5 separate regions of the Homo sapiens genome follow, and all the other regions are linked to region 3. The links are contacts of gene promoters, found by promoter capture Hi-C in human tissues and cell types (Jung and others, 2019). All regions are on one chromosome and are shown on one strand. The core of a region is centred on a gene start or on the middle of the fragment in contact, and the rest is flanking DNA. Distances in the headings are between cores, read along the strand shown. Region 1 overlaps WDR7 (WD repeat domain 7). Region 2 overlaps LINC-ROR (long intergenic non-protein coding RNA, regulator of reprogramming). Region 3 holds the start of ONECUT2 (one cut homeobox 2). Region 4 overlaps WDR7-OT1 (WDR7 overlapping transcript 1). Region 5 has its middle 34 kb from the start of BOD1L2.

Region 1 (3,558 bases), core at 401-2,900, 450 kb before region 3:
AACTGTTGGCAAAATGTCCTCAGAACCAATAGAATACATTTAAATGTTATGTTCCTTTTTTGGAAACAAAGTTATTCAAATATAATTCACACTTTCTAAAATGTAGCATAGTTTTAGTTCTTATTTACCCTTCTAATGATAAACATGAGCATGATCTGTTTGAGCACTAGCAATACTAGACACCAAAGTTAACAAAGTAAAATCTCCCAAACTGGAATGTTTTACTCACAAAAAAACTTGGTTAAACTTTGATTTTAATATTATAAACTAGAATACTTCATAAGACCATGTTTGCCCTTTTTTATATTTAAGTCATTATGTCTTAATCCCTATTTATGCAGCACTTTTTAAATGAAACCTTCCCCTGGGTTCATTTTTGGGCAGACTTTATATTGAATTGTGTTTGGATTTTTTGGAAGCCTCTTTGAAGGATGAATTTGTGATTGTTAGTTGCACAACCAGTTTCCTTTATTTTCATTTTGGGGGCGGTTTTCCTACAGCAGCCATAGCGTACTGTGGGAAGTGGAGCAGGGCAGTGCCCTTCCCTGGCTGTATTGATTTGCCCTTCAGCTGTGTGCAGTGCCGAGAGAACCTCGGGCCTTGTTGTTGATTATCTACACAATGTCTCTGGGAGCATTATTGACCCATTGCTGCCGACTGCCTGTGGCTCTTGATTTTTCACACCATCTCCATGACACTCATAATAAAACATACTATCTTATTGCTACTCAGCTCTGGGAGCCAACTGATTCAGCCTTAGAACACCACAGTGTTTCTGGAGAACATTTATTGTATGTGGGGTAAAGTGTTGCAGCAATTTTAGGATTCTGTCCTGTGTACTTTTAATAGCTACTTCTATAGCAAGATTCCACACACTGCTAAATTTTTATTGTCTTAAAAAAGCCAGTGCTAGCTTTGCATATATTGTCAACATGAAATTTAGCATGATTAATATAAATATTATACTTTTAAAATAATAGGCTAAGGAAAAGAATATTTTGCATTAACATTAGGCTTGACATGTTGCTATAACATGTATTTTCAAAACCAAATTTTAAAATATATCACAAGGATTATGCTATGATTTGTTACTGTGGTATATATTTGTTATAGTGAATGGGGAGGAGGTGGGGGAAGTTGAAGTTTCTGATTGTATTTGATTAGTATGTTTCTAATTTGCCATTCTCAAAATGTCTTCCAAGATACATTTTAACTTCTCTATATCAAGTACACAAAATCAAGTAAAATCTTTCCTCTTAGTTACCTTGAAATATTTTTTTAATTGAAGCTTTAATCAGTGGAAAATGGGTCTCCTTGAGCATGTATTTTTGTTTTATATTGTTTTATATTGGAGGTTTTATATATTTTATTAATTTTTAATTATTTCTGATATATTTCCTAATCCACAATTAGCATTAACAGGTATTGTACACTAAGTATTGATGGAAATTATAGCATGTCAAAAGGAGCTCAGAGATCCTAAGAAACAGGCTTTTTCTGTTGGTAGAGTGAATAAAATGTACATGTTTCTTAAAGAGAGTTTAAATATTTTCATGTATATTAACTGCTGTTACTATAGGAAAGGCAATATAGCTCAAAAAGGGGCAATTACTCTAAATTTGTGTTGGACATTTTTATAGGAAAGATAGGTCACAAATTAGGTTAATATAATTGGTTGCTTTTTACTGAAGTTGTTTAGAGTGTTTTCATTAGAACAAAATTTTCTTTAACAAACCTACTTTAAATAAATTCAGACTTTGGAAATTATAATAGAGCTAATTTCAGCTTCTTTGTGTGTGTGTGTGTGTGTGTGTGTGTGTGTGTGTGTGTGTGTGTGTGTGTATACATATTCAACTTCATGATTTCCCTGAACTAGGGTCTGTTTCCAAAACATCTACTGTAATACTGATAGCGATATGTTCAATGATTAGTAGCTCACCACTTTAAGATGTTTAAAATTTTGACCATTTATATCAGTGAATTTTGCAATTTAAGAAAAGGATCTTGCTTTTAAACTGTGGTATTATCAAACTACCAACACTTTGACATTTTGAAATGATAATTCCTTTGTTCTGGTTTATGGATTTAGTTTTCATGTTTTATCATACTTTGATAGGTTTTATGTTTGAAGGATACATAGTTTTCTAAATGTATGCTTTTAAAAATGTCAAACCACTATAAAATAAGGATTTTTAAATTAAAGCTTTCAGAAGTGTGGCTTCAGAGGGTGGGGTGGTATATAGTATAGCCTTAGTGGGCTGCCTCTGGATGACAGATCTGTACAGAACCCCAGACAACAAAGTTGTCCCTAATTTTAATCTAGCTGCTTCTCAGCTGATTTACTTTCAGTTTATGTCCACTTGATGTAAACAGAACCCAATGACGGGGGAAAATAAAAAAAAAATAAAAATAAAAGGCATTCCACTTCTCATCCCTCCAAATTAGTGTTGTTCTATTGAATTAAAAAATTGAATCTCCTCATCATTTTTCATGCCAAATTCATGACATTTTAGGACACAGGATGAGAGTAGATGCCATTAAACCCTGTAAGTCTCAAGCAGAGGCCTTTTTTAAAATCAAGGTCCATAGGCTTAGGCAACAGTTCAGTAACCTTTGGGAAAACCACAGGGTGTGTTTTACCTATTGTTATGCAAACATTGTTCTTCCAGAGCTGACCTTTACTCACAGGGATTTAACAGCCATAGTAAGTCAGGGTTTGAATTCCCTGTGTCTGAGTTGCGGATCAAGTTTACAATAACCATGTTCACAATTGTTTTGAGCGCTTCCACCTGATGGTTTTTGATAGCATGAGGTTTGTGTTCCACTTAAGCCTAAGTATTTCAGTGTGTCTTTGGACATTCAGAACCACTTGAAAGTGTACACAAGGATTCCTCTAACTGAGACATAATCATCAGGTATTGCAAAGGTTAAGCCTTATCATCTGTACCAAAAAAAAAAAAAAAAAAAAAAAAAAGGTGAGGTTTCATCAAAAACTTCCATCCTCACAACCTTTCGACCACAATTTGATGATGATTATTGATTATCTCACAGCCTTTCACTCACGCTCTGCCACCGCGGCCAGCCCTGATATACAGATAGGGCTGCAGTCCAGCTAAAATAAGACTCCATCTTGATAATGGACTGAGATGAGGATACTGTTATTTGATAAAGATAATTGATGTTTCACAGTGAATTGGAAAGCAGCTTCAAGTGCACCATATCTGAAGCTATATTTTGTCCACAAATATGGCAGTTGTTTATAAAAATAGAACAAAAGAACTAAAGTTACGTATTTGGGCATAACCTTTTAAAGCATTTTGGTGCTATGATTTTTTTTCTTTTGTGCTTGATTATTTTAAGGTGTAATAGAGAAAAAAATAGTAAAGAGTATATCACGTTATTTTTTGTCTCTGGTTTCAGGTTACTTTGTTAAAATCGTACATGGTGTAGGTGTTATTGATCAGTTCCCTTGCAGACTTAATACTTAAATCCTATGCTTGGATTATGATGAATCACTGTCATGCATAAGCTGGATATCTTAGGTCAAAGTTAAATTTC
Region 2 (3,666 bases), core at 311-2,810, 370 kb before region 3:
GCCAATCTCCTGTTTCTGGGTCTGAGGGCTCCAGGGGATTTCAGAGGATGAGGGCACATCTGAGGTCCTCGTGGTCATCTTGTTTCCTGGCTAACTTCGCCTCCTTCCACTCCACTCTGATCCTTTGGGCCTCCCCGATCTCCCTTAACCCTGAGTTCACCCCTGAGCCCCTTCACCCTCCACTGAGAGGGGCCCTGGCCCCTGCATCTCTTCCTTCTCTGGCTCTGAGTCTCTGTGATGTGCCAGTGCTGTGCTCCTGGCCGCAGTGTAACAGACCTTCTGGCCTGTCTTGAATTTCCTGCACTCAGGATATACAAAGTTGGAGTTGAGATGGTGGATGAGGCATAGCTCACAAAGAGTATTAGTTCTCCCATTAAAATGGGCAGCTGTTTAATTTCATGCCAACTCATGATGGCATTTTCCAGAACAGAAAAAAATAAACAGAAAAAAAAAGAGAGAAACAAAAACCAATGCAAGATGAGTTTCCATTTGGAAATCAAATATGTGTCCATTTATTTGCACCTGAGATTCTAGAGGCAAAGGAATTCCAAGCTTCGCTAGTGGACCTTGAGTTTTCCCTCCCTACTCACAATGACTACAGGGGCTCTGGGTGTCACTTTGAGACCTGGCTTCAGCCCAGGTGTGCTATGTCTGCACAGATGTGCTGTCTCCTCAACTGCTTCCACACCCTGCTGCACCCCATGTGCCGCTGCCCAGGAGCCGGCAGAGCCCCAGCGGGCCCTTTGTCACTCGCTACCCAATGTGCATTCTCCAGTGGGCACAGCAGGCAACCCTGCTCCGCGGGCCTCTGCCCGAGCCAGGGATTACGGGATGGGCTTGCCTGCAGTGGCAGATGGTAGTGCTTAGAGCTAAACTGCATTTGGCGCTTTGAACATCTTGAAAAGATTTCTTTAGAAGTTAAACTTGGCTTAGGAGTGACAATATGTTTCAGTCTGTGTCTTTGAAAAGGCCTCAGGGTGGTGCGAGGGGGGTTGGCTGTTTCATGGTTCCCTGCCTTGTCTTGGCTGTTTTCCACGGAGTCCTGTTTCTCATGGGTCCTGCAGTCACAGTGGCTTCTAAATTTTGGCTCCATTGTTTGGAAGTCACATTTGTTTCTGTACATGTGCTGTGGGAAAGGCCACACTGGCTGTCCTGCAAGGACACATTTAGATGCCTCTGGGCAGTGGGAGAAGCGCATGCCTTGGGGCACACATGGAGGCAGAGGGCGTTGTGTCCTGCACCAGGGCTGAGTTTTGCTGTTGCCCCTGCTTCAGCCTATCAAGGGGTTGACAAGCATCCGGGCAGGGTTTGGGGTCCCAAACCTTTTGGCATCAGTGAGGACCAATTGACAGCTTCTTGCCTCCTGGAGCTCATGGCTAATTGCACTGGAATAATACCCTCCAAATCCCCATCCTAGGCTTGTCCTATTTAACGAATCCTTTGGGGGACAAAGGGTTTGATCATCTCTGAGCTCAGATAACATCTCTCTTCCCCATCCCACAATTTTCCCATCCTCAATTTGGCCACTGTAAACTCTGTCAGGAAAAACCCAGCCTTCCTCCCAAGGAAGGCACCCAGGAGCACCTTCTGGGGTGAGTGAAGCCCTGAAATTGGCAGAAAGGCAAGGCGAGTGTCCAGCTTGCATGCCAGGCTGGCCAGTGCATCTCTCAGTGGCTTCTGCAGTCAGAGCAGGCTCCATTGACCATTCATGAGATGTCAGGTGGTCTACAGATGGGAACACAGCATTATTGATTTTTACTAGCCTGCTAAAATGGAAGGGAAAATACCCTTCTTAAAAGCTCCCGGTTAAGCTTTGTTTCCTAAATGGTGATTCCAGGGCTCTGAGTTTGTCAAAGGCAAATTTAAAATAACAGGACTGTTGAAGATATAATAAAATGAAATCTTCTTACAGCCATTAACTTCAGAGAGGAGATCTCTGACTCAGGCTTGGAGGCTAAGGGGGAGAGGGAGAGAGACCCACAGAGTGGGGGAAGGGGGAGAGAGGAAGCTGAAAGAACAAAACCAGCAGCTCTGCCCCTCATGGCAGCCCCTTTGATAAGATCGGATGTGAATGTAAAGAAATGAATTCCACCTTCTCTAAATTGACAACAGTTCCCTGGCCAAGCAACGACGGGATGTGATCAGGGAGCACTGGCCTGATGGGCCCCCACCAAGTGCACTGACTTGGAAAATGGGGAAAGTTGGGGGTCAGGCGATGAGCTCTGGGGGAGGAAGCTGGAGAATGAGGAGGCTCCAATTGCCCTACCACTATTACTTATTTAGATGTTGTTTCTTGTTCATCTTCCTGAGAGCTCTCGTAGTCCCAATGACTGGAACACAGATGAGGACACGGTCGTGTCTGCAGGGGTGTCTGCACTTCCAGTTGGCTTGCTTGGATGTGTGTGGTTCTTGGAGCCATCTTGGGTGATTTTCCTCCAAATCTTTGACATTAGGGAAAGCCTTTCATGCGCGTCCGTGTGAAGAGACCACCAAACAGGCTTTGTGTGAGCAACATGGCTGTTTATTTCACCTGGGTGCAGGCGGGCTGAGTCCAAAAAGACAGTCAGCGAAGGGAGATAGGGGTGGGGCTGTTTTATAAGATTTGGGCAGGTAAAGGAAAATTACAGTCAAAGGGGGTTTGTTCTCTGGTGGGCAGGAGTGGGGGGTCGCAAGGGCTCAGTGGGGGTGCTTTTTGAGCCAGGATGAGCCAGGAAAAGGACTTTCACAAGGTAATGTCATCACTTAAGGGAAGGACCGGCCATTTACACTTCTTTTGTGGTGGAATGTCATCAGTTAAGGCGGGGCAGGGCATTTTCACTTCTTTTGTGATTCTTCAGTTACTTCAGGCCATCTGGGCATATGCGTGCAAGTCACAGGGGATGCGATGGCTTGGCTTGGGCTCAGAGGCCTGACATTCCTGCCTTCTTATATTAATAAGAAAAATGAAACAAAATAGTGTTGAAGTGTTGGGGCAGCGAAAATTTTTGGGGGGTGGTGTGGAGAGAGAGAATGGGCGATGTTTCTCAGGGCTGCTTCGAGCGGGATTGGGGCGGCATGGGAACCTAGAGTGGGAGAGATTAAGCTGAAGGGAGATCTTGTGGTAAGGGGTGATATTGTGGGGTTGTTAGAAGAAACATTTGTCATATAGAATGATTGGTGATGGCCTGGATACGGTTTTGGATGAATTGAGAAACTAAATGGAAGATACGAGGTCCGAATAAAAGAAGGAGAAAAATGGGTATTAAAGAACTAAGAATTGGGAGGACCCAGGACATCCAATTAGAGAGTGCCCAAGGGGATTCAGTGTAATTACTTGCTTGGTTGGCAAGTTTTTGGGCTCTATCCTTGAGTTTTTTTATGTTGTCATACACCAGGCCAGATTGATTTAGGTAAAAACAACACTCTTCATTTAAGAATATACAGAATCCTCCTTTTTCAACAGTGAGTAAGTCAAGGCCTCGGCAGTTTTGGAGGACAACTGCAGCTAAAGAGTCAACTTGGGCCTGGAGGACTGATAAAGTTTGTGATATGTCTGTGATGCTAGCAGAGAAGTCATTAGACAGGCTACGGAAGGTCGTGACAGAGGTTGAAATGCCTGCTATTCCAGTACCGAGAGCAATAGTGGAGGCAGAAAGTCCTAAACCAACCATCAAGGGAATTAGTGGA
Region 3 (3,886 bases), core at 152-2,651:
ACTGTCTCTTTAAACAAAGGCAACATCTGCGCAACCTCAGCTAGCTTGAATCTTCGGAGGCAAACAGAGCGCAACCTGCTTTGGAAGAATCTTGTTACGTTTAAGGCTTTATGCCGGGTGTTGGCCTCTCTGTCTTCAACTACCCCTCCACCCCGACTCGGACTGCAGAAATCTCCAACTCTCTGTCCCCCAGTTCCACTCCCACCTCCAGACCTGGGGTTGCCAAACAACGGAAATTCTAGGAAGACGTAGGTGCGGTTTTTAAAGCCTTGGCTTGTGAGCGTTCTCAGGCTGGCCGGGGCGCTGGTCTTTTCAGAAACAAGGTTTGAATATGCAGGTGTCAGCCAGGATTCCTTGTCGTCTGCCCACCGCCGTTTCTCTCCCGGGATTTGAGAGAAGCGGGAGTGTGTGTGTGTGTGTGTGTGTGTGTGTGTGCGCGTGTGTGTGTCTCGTGTTAGGAGAAAGGTCCGTGGTTGCCGTCTCAGCTGGTTTGCTTACTCTCTGCCCCCAGGAGAAGTTTGCTCACTTGGGACACCAGCGACCCTCCTCACCTCCACCTCACCGGTTCTACACTCTCCCCACTTCTTTCCAAGTCGCTGATGCAGAAAGCACTTGGTCACCTTGAAACGGCAGCTCCCGGAATTCTAGTTTTGTTTTGCAATCTAGCAGGGCTCTTCGGAAGCCTCATAACTGAGATTTATGGGCTCACCGGGTAATTAAATGATGTTATTGTGTTAACTTTGCATGCATTACTGCTGCCCGCGCCGCCCGTGGGCCGCCGGCCGGCCGCAGCTCGCTGGCGACGAGGGCACTACAGTTGCTCTGACCGCGTAGATTATGCATGTCCCGGCCTCGGGAATTTACCATGCATTAGAATACATTAGCGCCTGCATTTTAAAAGGCTAAACTATTGGCTCCCAGCTAGGGACTCTCGGTAAGTGGCTTGTTAGTGACGAGTGTTTGTCTATACTGGCACATAGCGGAGTCTTTTGCTCCCGGCTTACTCGCCTCCAGGAAAGCTTTGGGGTGAGGCGAAGGCGATTGAAGCAATGCCCCTTCCCCCAGATCGCAGCTGCTCAGGGGGGACACAGCACGGCATCTTTCACCGAATCTCTCTCGCTCGCTCGCACTCCAGCCTCCCTCTCCCCAGCGACCCCCCCACCTTCTCCTCCCTCCCTCTCCTTGACGTTTGATTCCAGTAGCAAAGGAGGTAAAAAAGGCACCGAGCCGTCAGCCAAACCTGAAAAGTGCGGCCCCGCCCCCTCCACAGCCACTGGTAGCTTCCCGTGGAAGGCCCGCCTCCCGGGGCAGCTGCGGCCTCGGAGTGGTTGCGCTTGGCGCCCGTCGGGCGTGGCCCCGCCCCAGGTCCGGGAGGGTAGGTTGGCTGCCCCGGCGAGCGGCAGAGCCCTTCTGGACAGCTCCCGCTCACCCAAACAGAAGACGTCGGCGCCGGAGCGGGCTCGGACATGGCGAGGCTGCGAGCCGGCCCGAGCGGCGGGGCCCGGTGATCCCTCCCTCCCTCCCCGTCCCCTCCCCTCTCCCGCACGCACGCCCCGTCCGCCCCCACCCCGCCCCCACCCCGGGCGAGCCCGCCCGCAGCCCGGGGCGCACACCCGCACGCGCACTCCTCTCCACTCACTCCCGCGCCCGCCCCCACTCCCGCAGCCGAGCCCCGCCACGCGCGCCTTGCCCGCCCGCCGGCCGCCCCCGCCGCCCCCGCCGCCCCCGGGCCCTGATGGACTGAATGAAGGCTGCCTACACCGCCTATCGATGCCTCACCAAAGACCTAGAAGGCTGCGCCATGAACCCGGAGCTGACAATGGAAAGTCTGGGCACTTTGCACGGGCCGGCCGGCGGCGGCAGTGGCGGGGGCGGCGGCGGGGGCGGCGGGGGCGGCGGCGGGGGCCCGGGCCATGAGCAGGAGCTGCTGGCCAGCCCCAGCCCCCACCACGCGGGCCGCGGCGCCGCTGGCTCGCTGCGGGGCCCTCCGCCGCCTCCAACCGCGCACCAGGAGCTGGGCACGGCGGCAGCGGCGGCAGCGGCGGCGTCGCGCTCGGCCATGGTCACCAGCATGGCCTCGATCCTGGACGGCGGCGACTACCGGCCCGAGCTCTCCATCCCGCTGCACCACGCCATGAGCATGTCCTGCGACTCGTCTCCGCCTGGCATGGGCATGAGCAACACCTACACCACGCTGACACCGCTCCAGCCGCTGCCACCCATCTCCACCGTGTCTGACAAGTTCCACCACCCTCACCCGCACCACCATCCGCACCACCACCACCACCACCACCACCAGCGCCTGTCCGGCAACGTCAGCGGCAGCTTCACCCTCATGCGCGACGAGCGCGGGCTCCCGGCCATGAACAACCTCTACAGTCCCTACAAGGAGATGCCCGGCATGAGCCAGAGCCTGTCCCCGCTGGCCGCCACGCCGCTGGGCAACGGGCTAGGCGGCCTCCACAACGCGCAGCAGAGTCTGCCCAACTACGGTCCGCCGGGCCACGACAAAATGCTCAGCCCCAACTTCGACGCGCACCACACTGCCATGCTGACCCGCGGTGAGCAACACCTGTCCCGCGGCCTGGGCACCCCACCTGCGGCCATGATGTCGCACCTGAACGGCCTGCACCACCCGGGCCACACTCAGTCTCACGGGCCGGTGCTGGCACCCAGTCGCGAGCGGCCACCCTCGTCCTCATCGGGCTCGCAGGTGGCCACGTCGGGCCAGCTGGAAGAAATCAACACCAAAGAGGTGGCCCAGCGCATCACAGCGGAGCTGAAGCGCTACAGTATCCCCCAGGCGATCTTTGCGCAGAGGGTGCTGTGCCGGTCTCAGGGGACTCTCTCCGACCTGCTCCGGAATCCAAAACCGTGGAGTAAACTCAAATCTGGCAGGGAGACCTTCCGCAGGATGTGGAAGTGGCTTCAGGAGCCCGAGTTCCAGCGCATGTCCGCCTTACGCCTGGCAGGTAAGGCCGGGGCTAGCCAGGGGCCAGGCTGCTGGGAAGAGGGCTCCGGGTCCGGTGCTTGTGGCCCAAGTCTGCGCGCCGAGTCACTTCTCTTGATTCTTTCCTTCTCTTTCCTATACACGTCCTCTTTCTTCTCGTTTTTATTTCTTCTTCCATTTTCTCTTTCTCTTCCGCTCTTCCCCTACTTTCCCTTCTCCCTTTTCTTTTTCTTTCTTACTCTCTCCTTGTCCCTGAGCTTTCATTGACCGACCCCCCCCCATTTCATTCGCCCTCCCCTCAATGTGCCAACCTTTGCCCTATTTCCGATCTTCCCAGGTACTGGGAGGCGGGATGGGGGTGTGCGTTTTCCTCTAGGAGCCCTGTCTTTCCAAGACCCACAGAAACCAGGACCTGCCCTTATTCAAAACCCCATGCACTTCAAGTCTCTTTTAGACAACACATTTCAATTTTCCGGGCTGACTAGTCTCCCTGTGCAGAGGCAGTTGAGAGGCTTTGCTCTGCAGAGGGAAAAGAGCTCTCTACTCTCCCACCCACCATATAGGCAAACTTATTTGGTCATTGGCTGAAGGCACAGCCTTGCCCCCGCGGGGAACCGGCGGCCAGGATACAACAGCGCTCCTGGAGCCCATCTCTGGCCTTGGCGTTGGCGCAGGGACTTTCTGACCGGGCTTGAGGGGCTCGGGCCAGCTCCAATGTCACTACCTACAGCGAGGGCAGGGTGTAAGGTTGAGAAGGTCACATTCACCGCTTTGGGAGGACGTGGGAGAAGAGACTGAGGTGGAAAGCGCTTTGCCTTGCTCACCGGCCGTCCTTGCCCCGGTCCCAGCGTTTGCTGGGATTTGCCAGGATTTGCCGGGGCTCCGGGAGACCCTGAGCACTCGCAGGAAGAGGTGCTGAGAAATTAAAAATTCAGG
Region 4 (3,842 bases), core at 617-3,116, 390 kb before region 3:
GCTTCCTGGATGATTCGTGTGCACCTACAGTTTAAGAAACACTTCACAGGAGTCCATGTGGAACCTCACAGGTGCTGTTGATAGTTTCATTAGGCACCAGGCTGGGACTGGCTCTGGGCACCACCATTCACTGTGTCCCAAGGTGGAAGCCCAGGCCTCTTGCACAGGGGTGCACTAAGGTATGCTGCTCCCCATCAAAAGATTGGCCCAAGCCCAGATCCTAAAGCCAATCTCTCTGGGGCATCTGTTTTCCCATCTGTATGACGGAGGGGTTGGAAAGGCTGATGTCAGAAGACCAGTATGGCTTTATCATGTGTTTGGTTTTTGTTTGAGGGGGATTGATAGGATGATTTCTGTCCATGTTCATGTTCATGTTCCAGAAACATGGTAGGTTGAGATGAAAAGGGCATGACAAGAACCACAGCAGCTTCCAGATGAGGCTAGTGTATGGAGATGTGAGATTCGGGATGTTTCATTTTACATAGATCATATTCTGTAAGGTTATTCTTCTAGTTCTATGTTTCTTTGCATCATAGGAAAAAGGAATCGGATCCAGGGAAAACGCTGTACCACTGGGGCCCGGGTGCCTTAAGTGGTTTTCTGATCAACTCCATAGAATCAGAATGTCAGGACTACAAGTCATCCGTGTCCCTGCAAAGGACATCTCATCTTCATTGATCATCCATGGTGCTGAGCATTTAAGAGGCACCAGGGATGTAACTTTGAATCAGAAGAGACCTGGTTCCTGCCCTTGTGGAGCTTACATTCCCGTGGGTGAGACAGATAAAGAGCAGTAGTTATAAGCAAAAGGGGGAAAGGAAGATGCGGGGGTAGGGAGTGGTTTGCAAGAGGAGTCAGGTCACACAGGGTTGGTGTGGGATGGGGCATTAACAGGAAGAGAACACTATGAGATTTGTGTTTCGAAGAAACCATTGGCTGATGTGCGAGATTGGAGAGGAGTAAGAGAAGGCATGAGGAGACCAATTAGGAGACTACTACAGCTTCCCCAGAGGGAGATGACGAAGGGAGGGCAACTGCTTCCATTGCAGGGAGCGAGACCCAGCCCCAAAGAAAGCAACCAAGGATGAAACTGAGAACTGGGGTAGAAGGTACTGACACCAAAGTCCCAACCAAAATAGTTAAAACCGGTCATCCCTGGCAATAGTACTGCAGCCAATGGAGACACTGTTACTGAAGGACTGTGTGGCCTTGGGCAGGTTACTCCACCTCGCTGGGCCTTCTGTTCTTTCCTTGAAAATCAGAGGTTCAACCAGATAATTACTGTATGTGGTGACCAGATAGTTTCTTGTCCTAACTGGGACACTTTTGAGGGCGAAAGATGGAACAATTAATAATTACCCCAGGACAACAGACATAAACCTAGCCAATCCTGGGAAAACTGGGATGAAAATCCCTGACAATCAGAGCTCAGAACCCAAATGAGCTCCCTCCAAGTTCAACACTCTGTTTCTCAACAATTCTTTTATAGATTGGGAGCTGAAGTCAACTCATTTGTAACCAGAATTAAATAGATTCAAAGTTCCTGCTGAACTGAACTCCTGGCTAAGAACCCTGCAAGCATCCTTTCTACTCCCCAGTGCATTGAAAACCCTATTTGTGGTGAAAAGAGGCCCTGTTTTAGCCTCGAGAAGGGTGGAATTGCTGGTGAATGCAAGGACTGGCAAGGGGGTCAGCCTATCTCTGATATGGATGATGCTGTGCATGCACCTGTGGGGTCATGGGTGGAGGGAAGGCAGATGGAATCAGAATGCCCCCAGAGCGGGACTGTTGACTATGTCCTGGTTAGACCCAAGTCTCTCAAAAAGTCATCTTCTTCTTTTATGAAGACATGTAGCATAGCCAGTTCATTCTAGTTGGAAAGGCAACTAGGATTTGGAAATAGGAAATTCAGATTCAAGTCTCAGGTCTGCATGCTACTTCCCTGCTGGTGACCTGGACAAATCACTTTCCTTACTTAATCTCCCATTTTCTCAGTAAATATAGATAATGCCACCCTCTTGAGACGTTGTAATTAGGATAAAATCAAATCAGTAATATGAAAGTGTTCAGATAATAGAGAAAGTTTTTAAATAAACTCTTTACTTTGAAATAATTTCAGACTTACAAACAAGTTGAAGAAAGAGTTCCCATGTGCCCTTACTCAGCATCCCAAACGGTAACATGTGACATAATCATAGTTCAAGAATCAAAACTGGTGAATTAACATTGACCAATACTGTTAAACTAAGCTACAGACCTTAAATGTTACCAAATGTGTCAGCAAATGTTCGTTTTCTGGTCCAGGATCCAATCCAAGACCCCACAGTTTCTTTGATTCTGATACCAATTGAGACTCTTCTCATCTCTGACAGGTCCTCAGTCTTCCTTTGTCTTTCATGACCTTGACACTTTTGAAGAGTACAGGTTAGTTATTTTGCAGACAGTCCCAATTCAGGATTGCCTGATGTTTCTTCATGATTAGATTCAGATTGTGCTTTTTTTTTTGCCAGGAGACCACAGCAGTGACATTGTGTCCTTCTCAGTGCAGTGTATCAAGAGGAACATGATGGTCATTCCTGGCAATGTCCACTTTTATCACATGATTAAGGTAGTATCTGTCAGTTTTCTCAACTATAAAATATGTAAACTATGATTTTTTTCCTTTATAATTAATATGTGTCTTATGAGGAAATGCTTTGAGATTATGCAGAGACACTGTTCCCCATCATACATTTTTGCAGTAATTTTGGCAGCCATTGATGATTCCTGCCAGTAATAATCATAGTGGTGGTTGTTATGCAAATGGTGAAGCCGTTTTAATTATTGCTTTTCTTACTTTTAAGGTCTGGGGCAGGGATGGCAAGTTCCAACCACTTGGTGGTGGCCTTCTGGAACTCTATGTGAGAACGATTGTGAGGTCAAGTTCTCTTAACAGGGGAAGGATTGTGAGGTCAAGTTTTCACAACCTGGTGAGGGGAGGTGGGAAGGGAGCAGACAGGTGCCATATTGGCAATTCTAGGATGGTCCCTTCCCCTTTGGAGAGATAGATCTTGCCTGTTGGGCCTTCAGGCCAACACACACTAGCCTCGCTAGAAGGAATACTGCCTGTGTACCTCCTTCTTTCCTCCTTTGGGCCTACTTTGTTCTTCTGAATGGCTGAAACTCCAAGGCACCATGGTCTGCACAGATGGTAACTATGGTGCCAGGTGTTCCACAAGGAAGGGCAGCTTGTGCTAGGCTCTGGATTAGCAGGGCTGGGGCTACATTCACTTCCTCCCCAAGAGGCCCTATCTTTCTATACCAGTATGTAGTTTCTCTGATGAGATCAGCATGGAAGCCAGTTGCTTGGTGTGGTCCAGGAAGGCTTCTGAGAGGAGGCTGCTGCTGGACCTTGAAGGTTGGGGAGAAGATCACTGATGGGATTTGGGAGCATGCAGAACAGCGTTATTGCTTCACCCTGGCATGCCCTTTCCTTCATGGACTGGATTCTCCTTTTATCTGGATTCCCCCATTATATTTCCTATTGCAGCCATAATAAGTTTCTCCAACTTAATGCCTTAGAACAACACAAATTTATTATTTTACAGTTCTGGAGGTGGGAAGTCCAAAATCATCGTCACTGGGTTAGGTCTCAATGTCGGCAGGGCTGGCTGAGGCTCTCGGGAGGATTATCTTTCCTTGCCTTTTTCCAGCTTCTAGAAGCCACCTTCAACACCTACCATCAGATCTAAATTCCAGACAGCAAGAAGATGTGAAAACGCTCTTTCCTTCCTTTAAAGGCAAAACTCAAGACACACATCAAAACATCAAAACTCAAGGCACACATCCAAACTCATGGCACA
Region 5 (3,945 bases), core at 113-2,612, 320 kb before region 3:
GGGTTACCCTTTGGGGCTTTGACTGGGAGCTCAGTATAAACCTGTCTGATCATCTAGTCCTATAAGAAGGTACATTCTAGCTTCAGTGACTCCAGCAATCTGTGATGTGCTGCCCAATATCTTACAACAAACTCCTACCCCCCCTTGGAAAAAATAAAAGCCCAAACTTGTAGAACTTCCTGATTTCCATGGTGTAGATACTCCCATCAATTTCAGTTTCAAGCTACCAAGATGATATCACTGAATGTAAAGCTGGGAAGGTATGTGCCAGTCGGCTGCCATGGGCTGGTAGTAGCTGGTTCCAACACAGCGCTGGCAGCAATCCCAATACATGCCCACAGCTAAATGTTTTTGTGAATTGGGGACAGAAATGCCATCCTGATCCCCTGGCTGTTGTAAGATCAGAGTGAGAGTATCTATGTGCCTGTCTTTTGGTGCCTTTAGGGACAGGTATCACTTACTAATATAGTTTGGCTGTGTCCCCACTCAAATCTTATCTTGAGTTGTAGTTCCCATAATTTTCATGTGCTGTGGGAAGGACCCAGTGGGGTGGGACATAATTGAATCATGAGGGCAGTTATCCCCATGCTACTGCTCTCATGATGGTGAGTAAGTTCTCACGAGATCTGGTGGTTAAGAGGCTTTCCCCCCTTTTGATCAGCACTTCTCCTTCCTGCCACCATGTGAAGAAGGATGTGTTTGCTTCCCCTTCTGCCATGATTGTAAGTTTCCTGAGGCCTCCCCAGCTCTGCAGAACTGTGAGTCAATTAAACCTCTTTCCTTTATAAAGTACCCAGTCTCAGGTATGTCCTTATTAGCAGCAGGGAGAACAGGCTAATACACTTACCTTCCTAGGCACCAAGCTGGGGCCTGAATGGCCCCTTTAATTAGGGTGACCATATATTTTATTATCCTAACAGGAACACTTTTGAACTAAAAGGGGATGATATTAATAATTATACTAGGACAACTAGGGCTGTGCCTGGACAAGCCAGGACAATGTGGTTACCCCCTTCTAAAGCAAAATGTGAACATAGTAGCAAACAAGCCATATATCCATTGAAGCCTCCTCTGTATTCTGCATCCCTGAAGTTGGTGCTCTGCCCGTCTGGGAGAATGGTGCTAGAGTCTCCACTCAGCCTGTGGCTGCCGCCAGTCTGGGAGTGGGAGGGTCTGCAGAGCTCATAAAACTGTATGAGTTTTTAGGCTTGCAGCTTCCCTTGATGCATATTTCCAACCACTGCAAGTGTCCCTTCCTGTCTAAGCAATTGTGTCAGCAGCTAAATGCTTTTCTTGTTGGTCTCAGTCCAAACTTCCATTCTTCTCATAAAAAATAAGAAATATATAAGATTCTATGGGAGAAAAAAAGAATCCAGTAAATAATCCTCTACGTACACCACTCTAAATTTGCTTCCAGCCCTTGCTGATGAGTGTGCAGACATAATTATTGATGGAGTTGTAATCCATGTGTGCAAACTATTGGGTGTTGTACTTGTTTCCATTTAGCACTATTTCACATACTTATTTCCATATATTGACACAATCCACATGCTTATCATTTTTTATGGCAGCATAGTTCTCCATCATGTTGACACACTCTAGTTTTACATCCTGCTCTCCAAAGACAAAATGCCATGGCTTCATGAAAACTGGTATTCATGAATGCAGGCCAGCAGGGAAAGCTCTGGCTGGCTGGCAGTGTAGAAGGAGCAATGGTGGGTAGGGAATCAAGGTCTATCTGTAACTAGTGCTTTCTTTTGGAACAGAATCACTGTGACATGTGCAGATGTTCACTGTGACATGTGCAGATGGGGGCACTGAGATAATTATATTTTTTTTGTGTGTGTGTGGTCAAATTCAATGTTAACACTCACCAGTCTTTTGCTTTTATAACCTTCAGCTCCTCAAAGTCCCAGACACAAAAACAAGCCACACATCAATAAGCATATTTAACAAAGGGGCAGCTAACATTAATGTAGGCGCTGGGGCAACTTCTAAGTAATGCCTAGAAGAATGTAGCCATTTAAATTATGTAGAGCAGGATGAAGTCTTCCAACTCTTCCTGGCTTCTGAGGGACATCTAGCTGCCCGGGTGGTTTTTCAAAGGCCACCACCGCAGAAGGTAGTGAATTATGTCCTGGAGGTACAAGCCTTAGGATGAGGGCTTGGCTTAGGGCCCCAGCCTGACAATTCACTTCCTGTTCATTCAGAGTCCACCCTAGCTTGGGCTATTGATTTGAATGGATGTTGCTTTTGTTGTTGAGGAAGATCAATAAACAGTGTAAGGGAAGAAGGTTGCACTTAAGTGCAACCTTTGGCCTTGCACCTATGGCTGAGTTAGTTAAATTTGATTATCTTCTTGTTGGGATTAAAGTCTCTTCTTCTGTGTAACAAACTTGCTTATTTGGAGGGTCTAGAGGAGAGATTTGACTTACTCCCCATTGTGCTTACTGTACGTCAGCCTCTCTTCTAAACATTTAAGGCACATGAGCTCATTAATCGTCACAACAATTGTACAAGGTATGTGCTATTACTCTCCCCATTTTATAAATGGGGAAACTGAGGCATGGAGAGGTTAGGTAACTTGTTGAAGTCACAAAGTTAGCACATAGCAGATCTGGGGTTTCAACCCTAGAGGTTTGGCACCAGGGTCTATGCCACATTCATCTACCACACTCCTCTAATGAAATTCCAATTATTTCACCCAGAGGAGGGCCTGGTGTCCCTTCGTCCTTGGCTCTCTTTGGCCCCGGGCCACACCAGGTCATCTTCAGCCTCAGAGGAAGAGCCACAGATGGGATGGGCTGATAGCATCCATCCGAGCCATGTGAGTTGAACAACAGAAAACACAGCTAAAATGATTAACCCCAATTTTTCCTCTAATTTCCTCTCTAAATAGATTTTTCCCCTGCTGATGAAATCTGTCTCAATTTGGTGGTGAGTGGGTAGGTAGGAGAATCTGGATTGATTTGGTATTAGAAAGTCTCACATGTCTGTAGGGAAAAATATAGGGGGTGGATTATTCTTCCCAAATATAGTAGGGAAACCACAACTCCTATCATGTTTTATCCATCCAACCAGCCATCCATCCACCCACTCATTTGTCCATTATTCATTTGTCTATCAATCAGTCAATCTATTTATCTATCTTTCTACCTACCTACCTACCTACCTGTCCATCATTTTCACAGGAGGTGGTAATAACAGTGTTGAGACCACTAATCAGGATGCTGCCTGCTGTGTCATCCAGCCACAGCCCTGTTTATGGCCATCATAAAATGTCTGTGGATAGTCCAGCAGCTGATTTTCCAGGGTCTTTTTCTACTGTCTGAAGGATCAGGAAAAAAAATCTATCAGCTGGAGAAATTAAGCCATTTTTCTTCAGGGGAGAGAAATGGAATAGCAGGCTTTCCACATTAAAATGCTGCAGTGGATTCCAGATGAATGAAAAATTGGTCTGCATAGCAATGAGACTAGAGAGAGAGAGATTTGGAAGGTTTGTAACTGGCTCCTGGCAGAGGCCCCGGGCTGAGACACTACATCAAACCCGGTGCAGTCAGGCAAGCTTGGCTCTTGGGACTTCCACTCTGCGGAGCCGGGTCCTAAGACATCATTCTCTTCATTTTTTCTGTCTTTTATTTTTCCAACATGCTAGTTGTCTGGGTGGTTTTATTAGAGAGGTGCAAGTGCTGTGTTCCTCTTCCAGCTATGGCCCTTTGTTCCCATTGCTGCTGGGAACCTGCTGCCTGACAAAAGCCCTACTCCTCCTCATAACTCACACAGGCCAAGTCTGTCAGAAAGAGGGGTTCAGCCTTTGAAGGGTGCAGAGTCTGTCCCAGAGGGAGAACATTAACCCAGCTTCAGACAATTAACCCAAATATGATCCAGGTATAATGTTATGACCAGCTGGAAACCCAATTACGGGCCCTCTATGGACCTTAACAA

What was found. Contacts are between HindIII fragments. The study calls those that stand out against the background at their distance.
Region 1: a contact is called between a fragment that was not itself captured here and the fragment with the promoter of ONECUT2 in region 3, in 2 of the 25 tissues and cell types used here (heart right ventricle and mesendoderm cells).
Region 2: a fragment that was not itself captured here is called in contact with the fragment with the promoter of ONECUT2 in region 3 in 1 of the 25 tissues and cell types used here (mesendoderm cells).
Region 4: a fragment that was not itself captured here is called in contact with the fragment with the promoter of ONECUT2 in region 3 in 1 of the 25 tissues and cell types used here (mesendoderm cells).
Region 5: a fragment that was not itself captured here is called in contact with the fragment with the promoter of ONECUT2 in region 3 in 1 of the 25 tissues and cell types used here (H1 embryonic stem cells).

The regions. Positions count from the first base shown.
Region 1 is chr18:56,984,338-56,987,895 of GRCh38, forward strand. All of the region lies in intron 26 of WDR7 (WD repeat domain 7), which reads left to right. Among named protein-coding and RNA genes, the nearest start is that of WDR7-OT1, 54 kb to the right of the region's middle. RefSeq lists an enhancer at 2,335-3,184. The HindIII fragment of the contact is 3,040 bases long and covers 131-3,170 here.
Region 2 is chr18:57,062,186-57,065,851 of GRCh38, forward strand. The region is part of intron 2 of LINC-ROR (long intergenic non-protein coding RNA, regulator of reprogramming); the gene reads right to left. Among named protein-coding and RNA genes, the nearest start is that of LINC-ROR, 8.1 kb to the right of the region's middle. RefSeq lists enhancers at 1-394, 2,493-3,028. The HindIII fragment of the contact is 5,495 bases long and covers 1-3,666 here.
Region 3 is chr18:57,433,973-57,437,858 of GRCh38, forward strand. ONECUT2 (one cut homeobox 2) reads left to right here and starts at 1,402. Exons shown (of 2, transcript NM_004852.3): 1 at 1,402-2,972. The coding sequence starts at 1,745. RefSeq lists enhancers at 128-708, 709-1,288, 3,403-3,886 and a silencer at 1,282-1,331. The HindIII fragment of the contact is 18,346 bases long and covers 1-3,886 here.
Region 4 is chr18:57,043,424-57,047,265 of GRCh38, forward strand. WDR7-OT1 (WDR7 overlapping transcript 1) reads left to right here. Exons shown (of 3, transcript XR_001753461.2): 2 at 537-774; 3 at 2,373-3,842. Among named protein-coding and RNA genes, the nearest start is that of WDR7-OT1, 5.4 kb to the left of the region's middle. The HindIII fragment of the contact is 5,427 bases long and covers 1-3,842 here.
Region 5 is chr18:57,110,737-57,114,681 of GRCh38, forward strand. No RefSeq gene overlaps it. Among named protein-coding and RNA genes, the nearest start is that of BOD1L2, 34 kb to the right of the region's middle. The HindIII fragment of the contact is 5,562 bases long and covers 1-3,945 here.